Regions from separate parts of the Homo sapiens genome. Here region 2 is linked to region 1. The links are contacts of gene promoters, found by promoter capture Hi-C in human tissues and cell types (Jung and others, 2019). All regions are on one chromosome and are shown on one strand. The core of a region is centred on a gene start or on the middle of the fragment in contact, and the rest is flanking DNA. Distances in the headings are between cores, read along the strand shown. Region 1 holds the start of ANXA2 (annexin A2). Region 2 overlaps SLTM (SAFB like transcription modulator).

The links. Contacts are between HindIII fragments. The study calls those that stand out against the background at their distance.
Region 2: a contact is called between a fragment that was not itself captured here and the fragment with the promoter of ANXA2 in region 1, in 1 of the 25 tissues and cell types used here (aorta).

Annotation. Positions count from the first base shown.
Region 1 is chr15:60,395,744-60,401,920 of GRCh38, forward strand. ANXA2 (annexin A2) reads right to left here and starts at 2,243. Exons shown (of 13, transcript NM_004039.3): 1 at 2,200-2,243. RefSeq lists enhancers at 589-1,180, 1,181-1,772, 1,266-1,315, 1,376-1,425, 1,446-1,635 and silencers at 1,796-1,935, 2,006-2,545, 2,666-2,975. The HindIII fragment of the contact is 12,062 bases long and covers 1,294-6,177 here.
Region 2 is chr15:58,925,180-58,931,356 of GRCh38, forward strand. The region is part of intron 2 of SLTM (SAFB like transcription modulator); the gene reads right to left. Among named protein-coding and RNA genes, the nearest start is that of SLTM, 5.4 kb to the right of the region's middle. RefSeq lists an enhancer at 2,203-2,702. The HindIII fragment of the contact is 5,846 bases long and covers 372-6,177 here.

The DNA of each region.
Region 1 (6,177 bases), core at 993-3,492:
AGCAATATTTCCTGGGCATTTACCACAGGCAGTCTAGTTGGCACTGCGGGAAATTACAAAATCTAAACGGTCTCCAAATCACAAACCTCCAATTGTAAAAATGCACATACATGTCACATCCTTCCACTGCAGATGCAAGGGACATTTTTGGACAAACCCTTGACCTTTAGATAATCGACAGACTTGGAAGAAGGGAAGAAATTACTAAGCAGGACTGTGTTAACACTCCTGGCCCTTGCCCATCAAGGGCACCTCTGCTGCCCCAGTCTTACCAAAAATCTTCCTTAATATTGCCTGAATATTGCTGCTTTACATTCTATAAATTATAGATCTGTTTAGGTGAACGAGGGTTTTTTATTATTATTATGTATTTATTTTTTGAGACTGGGTCTTGCTATGTTGCTCACATTGGCCTTGGACTCAAGAGATCCACTAGCTTGAGCAGCTGGGACTACAGGCCCACGACCACGCCCAGTATCGTTGTTTTTTAAATAACAAGACTCCTCTCGGTTGCTGAGGCTCTTAGGACCACCAACCATTCCTAACTTAATGAATATCGATTCAATCTGCTAGTCTCTAGCTGGATGCAGGTCCGCCGAAATGGGAAGGAGGAAGGAATGCAGCGTAACTGGACCGGCCTGGATGGCTGTTGTAATGCGTCACGGAAGAGCCAGAAGAGCGTCTCTAAGGAGGTGGAAGGTGGAAAAAAGAAAGTGGAACAGGGGCAAAGACATAATTTTCCAATTAAAATAATTTACTCAGTGTCAACCTTAAAGCTAAAAAAAGTTCCAGAAAAATATTTCAGTGATTTAGTCTTCCTACACACACATTGCCCCTCACTACCCTCCACCTCCCCACCACCAATCCCATAATCAGGCAGTGCATGTTAAAAAGGTCTTTCAGGGCTAGCCTGGGAACGTCAGCACCTTCTGCAACACTGTTTCAGTGGGAAAGTGCATTCTGCATTCCAAGTCACCAAGTTCCAGACAGGCACAGTAGCACACACGTGTGAACAGAATCCATCAGTACAGTCTGGGGCCCAGGCCTTTGCACACCAACAACTTAAGGTTCTTGGTAATGGCCCAGCGTGCACCCATGAGGCCACTGCTCTTTTACACACGCACTCAGAACACCCACAGCTTTAAAACGGCAATCTTACTACAAAAATGACACTTTGCATTTGCACAGCACTTTGTTTTTTGTGTACTTTACACATTTATTACCTAATGACTGTGTTTTTTGAAATCTCCAATAACTCTGGGTGGTGGTAAGAATAGGCATCCTTAAGCCACCTTCCCAGATGAGGAAACTTATCTGTGTTCCCCTCCTTCTTCTCAACAGCCGGCTGATGGAACCCAAGCCCTCCACACCAGCAGTGGGGCCAGCTGCACAGAGCGGCCAGAAGGGAGAGGCCCCGGGGCCACGCCCTTCTCTCTACTCTCAGTTCCTGACTCATTGTCACATCATGGCGAGTAACAGGACAACCCTCCCCACAGAATCATGGGGGACACTACCTTCCTGAGGCCAATGTGTTCAACCAAGCGGGAAACTCTCCGGGTAGAGTGAAATCCGAAGTTGCTATGCTACAAGATAACCTAGAGCAAGGGGAATAACTGACGTTTTAATGTCTTCTTTTATGGGGGGCTGAGGGGTGCCTACTCACACTCCCCCCTCTCGTCTTCCCCCGCTACTTCCCTCCTGCTGGTCGGTTCAACTCCACAAGCGCGCGTTTGTTTCGAGTACAGTAACTTAGAGCAGATGGGGGGCACTTTCTAGAGGGCAGTGGAAAGCCCACTTGCTACTGCTGCGCCGGGGACCTGCGGCTCCCTGGGCGGCCACGCCCTGCCTCGGCGGCGCCTGGCGCGTCTGGAATGCGGGGCCTCCCTCCGCCCCTCTCCCCACGCCGCCTCGCCCCGCTCCCGCTAGGGCTTCTTAGAGAAGCCCGACCCCCCACCACCTCTGCCCTGCACCCTCCCGGCCCGAGGGCCGGTGGCCCCTCACCCCTGCCCCAAACACCTTGTCCCTGAGCCCCCTCCCCAAAGACTCTCCAGTGCCGGCCGTCCCTTCAGCCCCCTGCCCCCGACGGCCTCCGGGGCCAGTTGCCGGGGCCTCCCTGCCAGGCCGTACCCTTCTTCCCAGCGTCTCCACACCCCGCTAGCTGGCGGCCCATCGCGGGCGGGCAGGGCGCGCCCCGCTTACCTGGGCCGTGCGCCGAGAGCTGAGAGCGTCCCCAAATGCTGAGCAGAGCCGGCTGGCCTGGGTGGGGCTTTTATACCCGCCACATCCTCCCTAGGCGAGGCGAGGCCCGCCCCGCCCCGCCCCGCCTCCCCCTTACACGGCCCGCTCCCACCCCAAGTCAGGGGTGACTCACCCCGGCCCGCCGGCCCGCAGGGACCGCGCCCTGGAACGCTCCCGAGCCGCGCCACGCGGGAGCGGCCCCAGCGCCCCTGGCCCTGCCCTCCGAGAAAGCCCGGCCGAGGCTGCCCCGAGGCCCACAGGGACCCCGTTTCTTCCTCCTTTCCTCATTTTACTTCTTAAGTGCCACGTCGAGCTCTCAGCCTCGGCTTGGGTTAATAAATTAACAAGACTTTAGTAGTAGACTCTGGGCTTGATTAAGTGTTTTTTTTTTTTTTTTTTTTTTTTTGGCGTTAATGCAATGGAGGAAAGAATTGTTCCAAGAAACATAAATCTGGACTCCCCTGAGCTGGGGCTGTTGGCATCCAGCGCCCCATTACCGTCTGCAAACATGTCAGCTTAACCTCTGGCCGCCAGTTCCCGGGGGGCGCCCGGGGAGGGAGGGAGATTCGCCCTGTGCTGCAAAGCCTGGCCCGCCCCGGCCTCCGAGGGCCAGGAAGCCCCGAGCCTGGGCTGGGAGGCCAAAGCCGGGAGCCAGGATCCCACCTCAGTCCCGCCCAGGGTGGCGCCCCTGTCCCTAGCACGGCTGTGCTCCGCTTCTCTCCGCGCCTGGGGCATCTCTGCGCGGCCTCGTAGCAGGCAGTCCTGAGCGGGGTGGGGCCCATAGCTTTGAACCCGGAGTTTCGTGTGTGTGTGTGTGTGTGTGTGTGTGTGTGTGTGTGTGTGTGTGTGTGTGTTTCGAACCCGGAGTTTCAACAAAGAACTTTCCTCTCCTTCTTTCATGACTGCTGGGGTGTGTGTGTGCGTGTGTGGTGTGTGTGTGTGTGTGTGTGTGTTTCTTGCAGCCGTTTAGCCAACTCCCTTGCTCGGTGTTGCTGTTACTCGCTTTTCTTCCGAGAGAGAGAGAGAGAGAGAGAGAGAGAGAGTTTCTTGCAGCACAGAGAGAGAGAGAGAGAGTGAGATAGAGAGTTTCTTGCAGCCAGTTAGCCAACTCCCTTGCTCGGTTTTGCTGTTTCTCACTTTTCTTCCGTGTGTGTGTGTGTGTGTGTGTGTTTCTTGCAGCCGTTTAGCCAACTCTCTTGCTCGGTTTTGCTGTTTCTCGCTTTTCTTCCGTGTGTGTGTGTGTGTGTGTGTGTGTGTGTGTGTTTCTTGCAGCCGTTTAGCCAACTCCCTTGCTCGGTTTTGCTGCTTCTCGCTTTTCTTCCAAGAGTCACGTTGGCAACGTGCAGGCAGACACCTATTTGTTGTATGTGAGACGACGCAAATACTGTATTCGAACCTCAAACTAACAGGAAAGCGACGCTGAGAATCCCGAGGATCTCTGGCTGCGTTTTTTAAACCCCTCCTTGCACACTACTTCCTGCAGCTCTTTTTCCTGGTTTTGATGATTCTGTGTTTCAATCTCCCATTTATCTTAACATCCATTTTTACTTTCCATTTGAGCGTCAATTCACTCCTGGGAATCAGAGAATGATAGCAAGGCCAACAGACATTCAGTGCTCTGCCCACTCGCATAGAGTGACACAGGCAAAGTCGGCCACAGCTGAGGTCTTTTAACCCGCCCAAAGCTTTCTGTTACCCAGCGCTTTCACGAGGAATTATACGCGATGGGCCCTACCACAGAGCCAAATAGAAAATCAAGCAACACTTTGGGTACAATTGCTGATTTACATTTATAGCTCTTCAATTTAGCCTGAAAGCTTCAAAGTCAGAAACAATGTTTATCTGCTTACTTTGTGTGAACATTTTGGAAGGTTAGGGGAACACAGGCAGACAGTAATATTGGGCACGATTCAGCCTCCCTTCTGTGTATCTCAAGATAGGTTCCACAGTCTCTTACTCCTAATCGTGCTGTGATAGGCCCTTTACAGAAGATAAAATTTAATTCAAATCATGTGGAATATATAAAAGCCATCAAATGTCCAAAAGAGTTTTGTGCTCATCTTGGGCATGCCACAAATTCTAACTTCTATAGATTTGTACAATCACCAGTCTTTGCATCATGCTAAAGAAATGTGCACTGATGTTATCATAAAAATGAAGCTATTAGAAGTCATAGTTTGCTATTTCTGAGGAATGTGAGGCCAGTTCTTCCAGTATAAAAGATCTTTTATTAGTCAGAAGACTCTATTTTCCCCCCTGGTTGAGGAGAATGTTTACATCAGCCCTCAGATTGTCTGCTGTTGTCCATATTGCTCTCTAAGTGCTTGACTTTGTTTTGTTCACACTTCATCTGCTGCACTCAACACCTACTAGCGCCTAGCTAGCAATGATAGGCACTCACTAAATGTGATAGAATGATAAAATACAATTATTCACTGAATAATAGAATGTTAAAGCAGGGAGGGACCCTAGAGATTAAATTGCCCTATCCTTGATTTTTACTATTATTATTCTTATATCTTTTAGTTGAGATCTCACACTGTCACCCAGGCTGGAACGCATGGCATGATTAGGGCTCACCGCAGCCTTGACTGCGGAGGCTCAAGAAATCCTCTCCTCTCAGCCTCTTGAGTAGCTGGGACCACAGGCCCACGCCACCAAGCCTGGCTAATTTTTCTATTATTTGTAGAGACGACAAAGTCTTGCTATGCTGCTCAGGCTGGTCCCGAACTTCTGGGCTCAAGTGATCTGCCTACCTTAGCCTCCCAAAGTTCTAGGATTACAGGCGTGAATTACTATACCCGGCTCTTGATTTTTACATATGAAGAAATTGGAGTCCAAATAAAATCTCCTGCCCAGTCCAGGGATTAAATAATGCACCCAAGGCCCTCGTATCAGTTACCTTTGCAGTATAACAAATTATCCCCATAAACTTAGTGGTTAAACATAACCATTTACTTGCTTGTAATTCTGCAATTTAAGCAGGACACCCAGTGGGGACAGCTTGGTGCTCCTCCACAGCATGTTGGGTTGGGTAGCTTAGTTGGGGTTGGAAGATTGAAAGCAGCTTCATTCGTCTGGCGCCTGAGCTGGGATTGCTAGAATGACAAAGAGCAGGCTGGGCCTTTCTCTTCCTTGGTCTTACATCCTCCAGGTTCTCCTCTTTTGCTACACCACGGTAGTCATGGCAGCCAGCCTTCTAGAAGCAAAAGCTGAAGCTGCCAGGCCTCTTGGCTCACAGGCTGTGCAAAAACAAGCAATAGGCTGGATTTGCCCTATGGGCTGTAGTTTGCTGATCCTTGTTTTAATCCATTGCCCTACTCAAGTTTTTGGTTTTGCCCTCTGATATCTAGGCTCCTCCCTTTAAGATGTATTTCCTTTTCTTAAGAATGGCCCAGGCCAGGCATGGTGGCTCACGCCTGTAATCCCAGCACTTTGGGAGGCTGAGGAGGGCAGGTCATGAGGTCAGGAGATCAAGACCAGCCTGACCAACATGGTGAAACCTCATTTCTACTAAAAATACAAAAAATTAAGCTGGGCGTGGTGGCGGGCGCCTGTAGTCCCAGCTACTCGGGAGGCTGAGCAGCAGGAGAATGGCTTGAACCCAGGAGGGGGAGGTTGCAGTGAGCTGAGATCGCACCACTGCACTCCAGCATGGGTGACAGAGCGAGACTCCGTCTCAAGAAAAAAAAAAAAAAAAAGAATGGCCCATATTTGTAGCTGAGCAGTTCTCTCAGTCTGCTTCATTCATGCCAGGAGAAACTGAAAGGTCTAGAAACTTCTTTTCATTTTGCACTTTTTCTGGTTTAAGCTGGCAGTTGTTTCATTAATACAAGTATCTTAAAAACCATGTAGATTTTCCATATCTTATTAAGGTTCACACCATGCTCCAAGATTTATATACAATTTTCTCAAAAACTTTATTTATATAAATCTTGC
Region 2 (6,177 bases), core at 2,045-4,544, 1.5 Mb before region 1:
ATTGCATGGAGTATCTTAATCACAGGCCATGCCTTGTATTGTTTGCAAGTGTTTTAGCTTCTCTTCTATTAAACTGACATTTTACTAACAAAATCATTTTTCTGAAAGGCCTTGCACATTGTCTTAAACACAACAGTCATACAATAGGTCACTCTGAGTTTTTTGTTTCTGTTTTTGTGGCAGGGTCTTACTCTATTGCCCAGGCTGGAGTGCAGTGGCACAATCTCAGCTCAGTGCAACCTCTGCATCCTGGGTTCAAGTGACTCTCCTGCCTCAGCCTCCTGAGTAGCTAAGGTTACACGTGCCCAACACCATGCCCAGCTAGTTTTTGTATTTTTAGTAGAGATGGGGTTTCACCATGTTGGCCATGCTGGTCTCGAACTCCTGACCTCAAGTGATCCACCCGCCTCCACCTCCCAAAGTGCTGGGTTTACAAGAGTGAGCCATCCCACCTGGCCCAATAGGTCACTTTGAAAAATTACTACAAAGATAATTCACATTCATTATAATAAACCTAGAATATGCCAAAGGTATATTTTTCAAATATCTTACATTAATTATCTAAAGATGAACAGAATAAACAATTCCGGCACACTCCTTCAGGCAGGTGTGCCTACAAACACAAGACTGTCAAAGGTAATTTAACTGGGTTCTTAATGAATTACCTTTCTATTCTACCAGTAAAAAGAAAATAGTCCTGCTTAACTCTCAGCACCGTTGTGAGAATCAAATAAAGCAATGTAGAAGTTTTCCGAAAACTGAAAAGTATATAAAATAATCTAGAAACTGACCAGCAGAGAGATGAATAAAAATGATGCTAAATTTCAAGCTTTAGTTTAGATTAGTTAGTTCTTAACTTCAGGTGTATGTAAGAATCACCTGGGGAGCTTTTAGAAAATACATACTGATGCCTGGGCCCCCAACATAACAACCCAAACCAACTCTATGGGGAGTGAAAGCCTGCTATCTGTATTTTTTAAAATTCAAATGACTAACGCAGAGTGCAGATCATGAGCCACTAAGACAAGTGAATCTATTTACAGAAGCTGTTGAGAAGAATATAGACGGAAGGTTATTGTTTTTTGATTCTCCAGACTACAGAAATATTTAAGTTCTATCTACCTTCAACAAAACACCATGTATGGTGTGAATCTATTTTAGTTGTTGAAAAGGGGGGAAAAAACCTTTAAACATAAACCTCCTGTAAGTACTTGCACATACACCTACACAACTTAGATCAACATGTGTTGTAATATGAAATGTGCTTTATGTGGTTGATTACTATATTAGATTAACTTTTAGAAAGCTTTACAGAGTAAACATGTACTTAATTATAAACATGTATATATATCATATGTAAAATGCTACATATGATAAATTCAGGGTGGTGGGATTACGGGTAATCTTCACTTTTTTGTACTTTTCTGGATTACCTTTTTTTTTTTTTTTCTTTGAGTCAGGGTCTTGTTCTGTCACCCAGGCTGGAGTGCAGCAGCACCATTTCGGCTCACTGCAACCTCCTCCTCCCAAGTTCAAGTGATTCTCCTGCCTGAGCCTCCAGAGTAGCTGGGATTACAGAACATGCTACCACACCTGGCTAATTTTTGTATTTTTAGTAGAGAGGGGGTTTCACCATGTTGGCCAGGCTAGTCTCGAACTCCTGACCTTGTGATCCACCCACCTCGGCCTCCCAAAGTGCTGAGATTATAGGTGTGAGCCACCGCGCCTGGCCAAATGTATGTTTTAATGGCTGCGATAAAAGGGCTAATTTTGTGAAATGAAAATGACATATACAACCTCTGAGGTTGGACAGTATTCCAGCAAGGTTCAGAGGCTTTTCAACACAGCATCAATGTGGTAAAGAATAAAAGGATGATGCAATGATTCATGTGTTCTAAAAGTAAGTATATTTTACATATCAATGTGTAAGGAGAAGCCATTATGCTCTTGAGAGAGGCACCTTTAAAAAAAAGATAAAAACTATTAATCCCTGATATACCTGCTTCTTACAAAGAAATATGCAATTAAAATAGGCACCAAAAGAGATATTTCTTTTTTTTGTTTGTTTTCTGTTTTTTGAGACCAAGTTTCTAAAGATGAACAGATTATCTAAAGATGATGATCTTGTTGCCCAAGCTGGAGTGCAATGGCGCAATCTCAGCTCACTGCAACCTCTGCCTCCCAGGTTCAAGAGATTCTCCTGCCTCGGCCTCCCAAGTAGCGAGGATTACAGATGCGAAACACCATGCCCAGCTAATTTTTTGTATTTTTAGTAAAAACGGGGTTTCACCATGTTAGCCAGTCTGGTCTCAAACTCCTGACATCAGGTGATCCGCCCACCTCAGCTTCCCAAAGTACTGGGATTACAGGCGTGAGCCATGCGCCTGGCCCAAAAGAGGTATTTCTAAAAGCAGTTAAGAAAGCCCCAAAAAGGCCCTCAGTATTCATTCAACAAATATTTTTTGAGCACTTATTACGTGCCATGCTCTACACCAGGCATTACAGAGACAGAGGTAAATGAAAAACTATGTCCTGGCCTTCAGAGCTTTCAGCCTTTCAGGTACCTAAGAAATATCTATAACAATTATACGCCCAAAGTCCTCCTCAATGCCACAGTTCTGATTAAAGTGTTACTTAACATCTGAACATACTACAGCTGGAGGAAAAAAGCTAATTACAGTACACTATGATACTGTGTTATATGAAATGTGCTTTATATGGCTGATTACTACATTTAATTGATACCAGTTTTAGAAAGCTTTACAGAGTAAACATGTACTTAATTATAAATATGTAGTCTGTGGTATTTTCCACAAAAAATTATACATTAGATGTTTGGCCAAACCTATAACCTCAAAATATATTTGTTTCTATAGAAGAAAAATCAGATTGTACACATCATTTTTAGTCTTTTTAAAGCTGCCAGGTATTGCAAATTAGTTTTAATGTCGGTAAGTATTGCATTACATATAGTTCTAAATACTGTACTGATTAACCACATCACTTTTGCTGAAGTTAATTGGTGACTTTAAAGGTTGAAATTTTAAAAGAAAAGGATATGCCAGCATCAGGTAAACCAAAAGTCTTTAAATCTATAATCTCTAAAACAACCTAATGAGAAGTTAGCTCTACCTGTTTAACTACTTTTTAAACACACACCCAATTAATATAACCGTAAACTTCAATGGGTGAAGCTTTCTCCTAAGTTACTTATTTAAAAGTTCATAACAAAGAGAGTGTGAAGACTCAGGAAAGCCATTCTAAGATACAAACATCTACTCTATTAACTACATGTAAAGGAATTTTATAAATATGTTGATATAAATGTCAGAGCCCACTATAACATTATCAACATTGTTTGTGCTTGTAATAGCTGCATTTAAAAAATATTCTAGGAGAAACTTAAAAATGTAGGTTCCTTTCCCTCTAACCTCTCTAAATAGAATCATTTTAACATACATTTTTAAAAGAAAGTTACCCTATAGTTATTTTATAAAAGAATAAGCTCAATGTTTCACCAAAGTATTTTTTCCATACCTATGAAGCTTCTCGTCATTTAACTTTTATTCACTACCTTAATATTGTCATAAGAATCATTTCTTTTCCTGACCAGCTATTATATATTATGTCTCGCTGATGTCTACATAATTACCTCTACGTAATCCCCTTCTTGGCACTTTTCGTTTTCTAATAATTTGTGCTGAAGAAAAACGATACTGATTTCCTATGAGCTTACCTGTTGCTTCCTTAAACATCATTTTAGTTAAACAGAAAGCATTTTCTTCTCATTTTTGTCTATATAATTATTAAATTTCAGAACTAAAAGAGCCTTACAGGGGACCTAGTAAAATTTCCAGTTTTACAAAAGAGAAAACAGGCGCACTGAAGGAAAAGTGGCATAACCAAGATGAAATTATTTTCAATGTAGATACCAGTAAGTAAAACAAGATCTGGCAAAAAGAATTGAATGTAGTAATTCAGCAACTTGATTGAAAAACTGATTATCAGCCAGGTGCGGTGGCTCACTTTGGGAGGCCGAGGCGGGAGGATTACCTGAGGTTGGGAGTTCAAGACAAGCCTGACCAACTGGAGAAACCCGTCTCTACTAAAAATACAAAATTAGTTTGGAGTGGTGGCGCATGCCTGTAATCTCAGCTACTCGGGAGGCTGAGGCAGGAGAATCGCTTGAAACCGGGAGGCGGAGGTTGCAGTGAGCCGAGATCACACCATTGCACTCTAGCCTGGGTGACAAGAGCGAAACTCCATCTCAAAAAAAAGAAAAGAAAAGAAAAACGGACATCACATTAAAACAATATTTAATATATCCTTGGTTTTCAAATCTGTTCATTATTGATATTTTAATAAGTTTCCCTATACAAATTTGGTTTCTAAAAGTTATTATTTAAACATCTTAATTCTTTTTTAAAATAGAGATAGGGTCTCACTATGTTGCTCAGGCTGGTCTTGAACTACTGGACTCAAGCGATCCTCCCACCTTGGCCTTTTGGGATTATAGGCATGAGCCACTGCACCCGGCCTAAAATAATCTTATCACTTTGTAAAATGGCAGAGAAAACATCTCTGCCATTTTAGAACTCTGCCATTTTAGAAGGCTAGAACTGAGTTGGTATGACGCATTTAAGCAAAACTGGCTCTAAAGATGATCAGTAGCGCTTGGAATTTGAGACAAGAGCATTCTTTAATAAGTAAACTGGGTTCAAAATCTCTCATATTAAAAATAATAAAAATAAAATAATTGAATCAATAAGCATCTTTATTGTAAATTAATTCAAACTGTTTGGAGTTGGAGATTTACATTATATTCTTTGTAATTCACAAGATTTTCATAACAATGATAGCCGGATTTCAAGAAGACTAGAGCTTTTTGTCATGCATCTCTTAGAATGAGGCCTGCTACAAACAAATGATTGAATGTTACAACTTCTTTTTTTTTTGAGATGGGGTCTCATGCTGGACTGCAGTGGAGTGACCTTAGCTCACTGCAACCTCCACCTCCTGGGTTCAAGCGATTCTCCTGTCTCAGCCTCCCCAGCCTCCCGAGTAGCTGGGACTACAGGCACGCGCGCCACCATGCCCAGCTATTTTTTTTTTTTTTTTTTTTGTATTTTTAGTAGAGATGGGGTTTGGCCATGTTGGCCAGGCTGCTCTCGAATTCCCGACCGCAGGTGATCCACCCGCCTCAGCCTCTCAAACTGCTGGGATTACAGGCGTGAGCCACTGCACCCGGCCCCCAAATGTTACAACTTCTAACTGAATACCTTAAGACCTCTTAACATCAGAGTTATGGAATAAAGTTCAAGTATAACCCATACAAAGAAAAAAATTAGCAAACATACTGATAAAAATAAATAATGTTTACTTATTTAAAATGTTGTGGTGGCACATGCCTGTAGTCCCAGCTACCAGGGAGGCTAAGGTGGGAGGGATCACTTAAGCCCAGGAGTTTGAGGCTGCAAAGAGCTAGGCACCACTGCACTCTAGCCTGGGCAACAGAGCAATACCCTATTAAAAAATATATATATATATCATATATGATATATATACACCTATATATAATCTATATATCATATATATAGATATATATACCTGTCATAAAATGTATTGAAAAAACCCTTAAAATTTTATATTGCTGAAATTATTTCTAATAATAAGAGATAAATGATGTTCCTAGTCAAAACTGAAAAAGGGATATACAGAGAAATTAAAAGTAGGTGAGAAAGGAATAAATCATGTTTATTTTCAATGCTAAAATAATAGTCAACTCAAACAACCTGGGACTATGATTAATACACAGTACCTGTCAAACTAGCACAGCATGCTAGGTAAAAGATATGAATCAAAACTACTGCAAGACACATGGTTAATTCCTGATATACTTATTTCTGAATTTCTATCGTTTTCCATTTTGAAATAGCCTCTGGTTTGTTGGCAGTCTTCTCATGACAAGCTTCTTTAAATACAGAAAATGTATCTCTCAAAGTGATACACTGAGTCAGAGTTATCTTAAAAGCTACCTTTAAGATAACTTTTTTACTTCTCTAAACTACATCCCCACCTCTCCCAGGGAATGCTTATTAGCCCTTTTCAATTTCCTTTGGCACAAACAGGGGACTCTCCTAACCTAGGAAGACTTAAAATAGTGAGTTGTCCTCATCT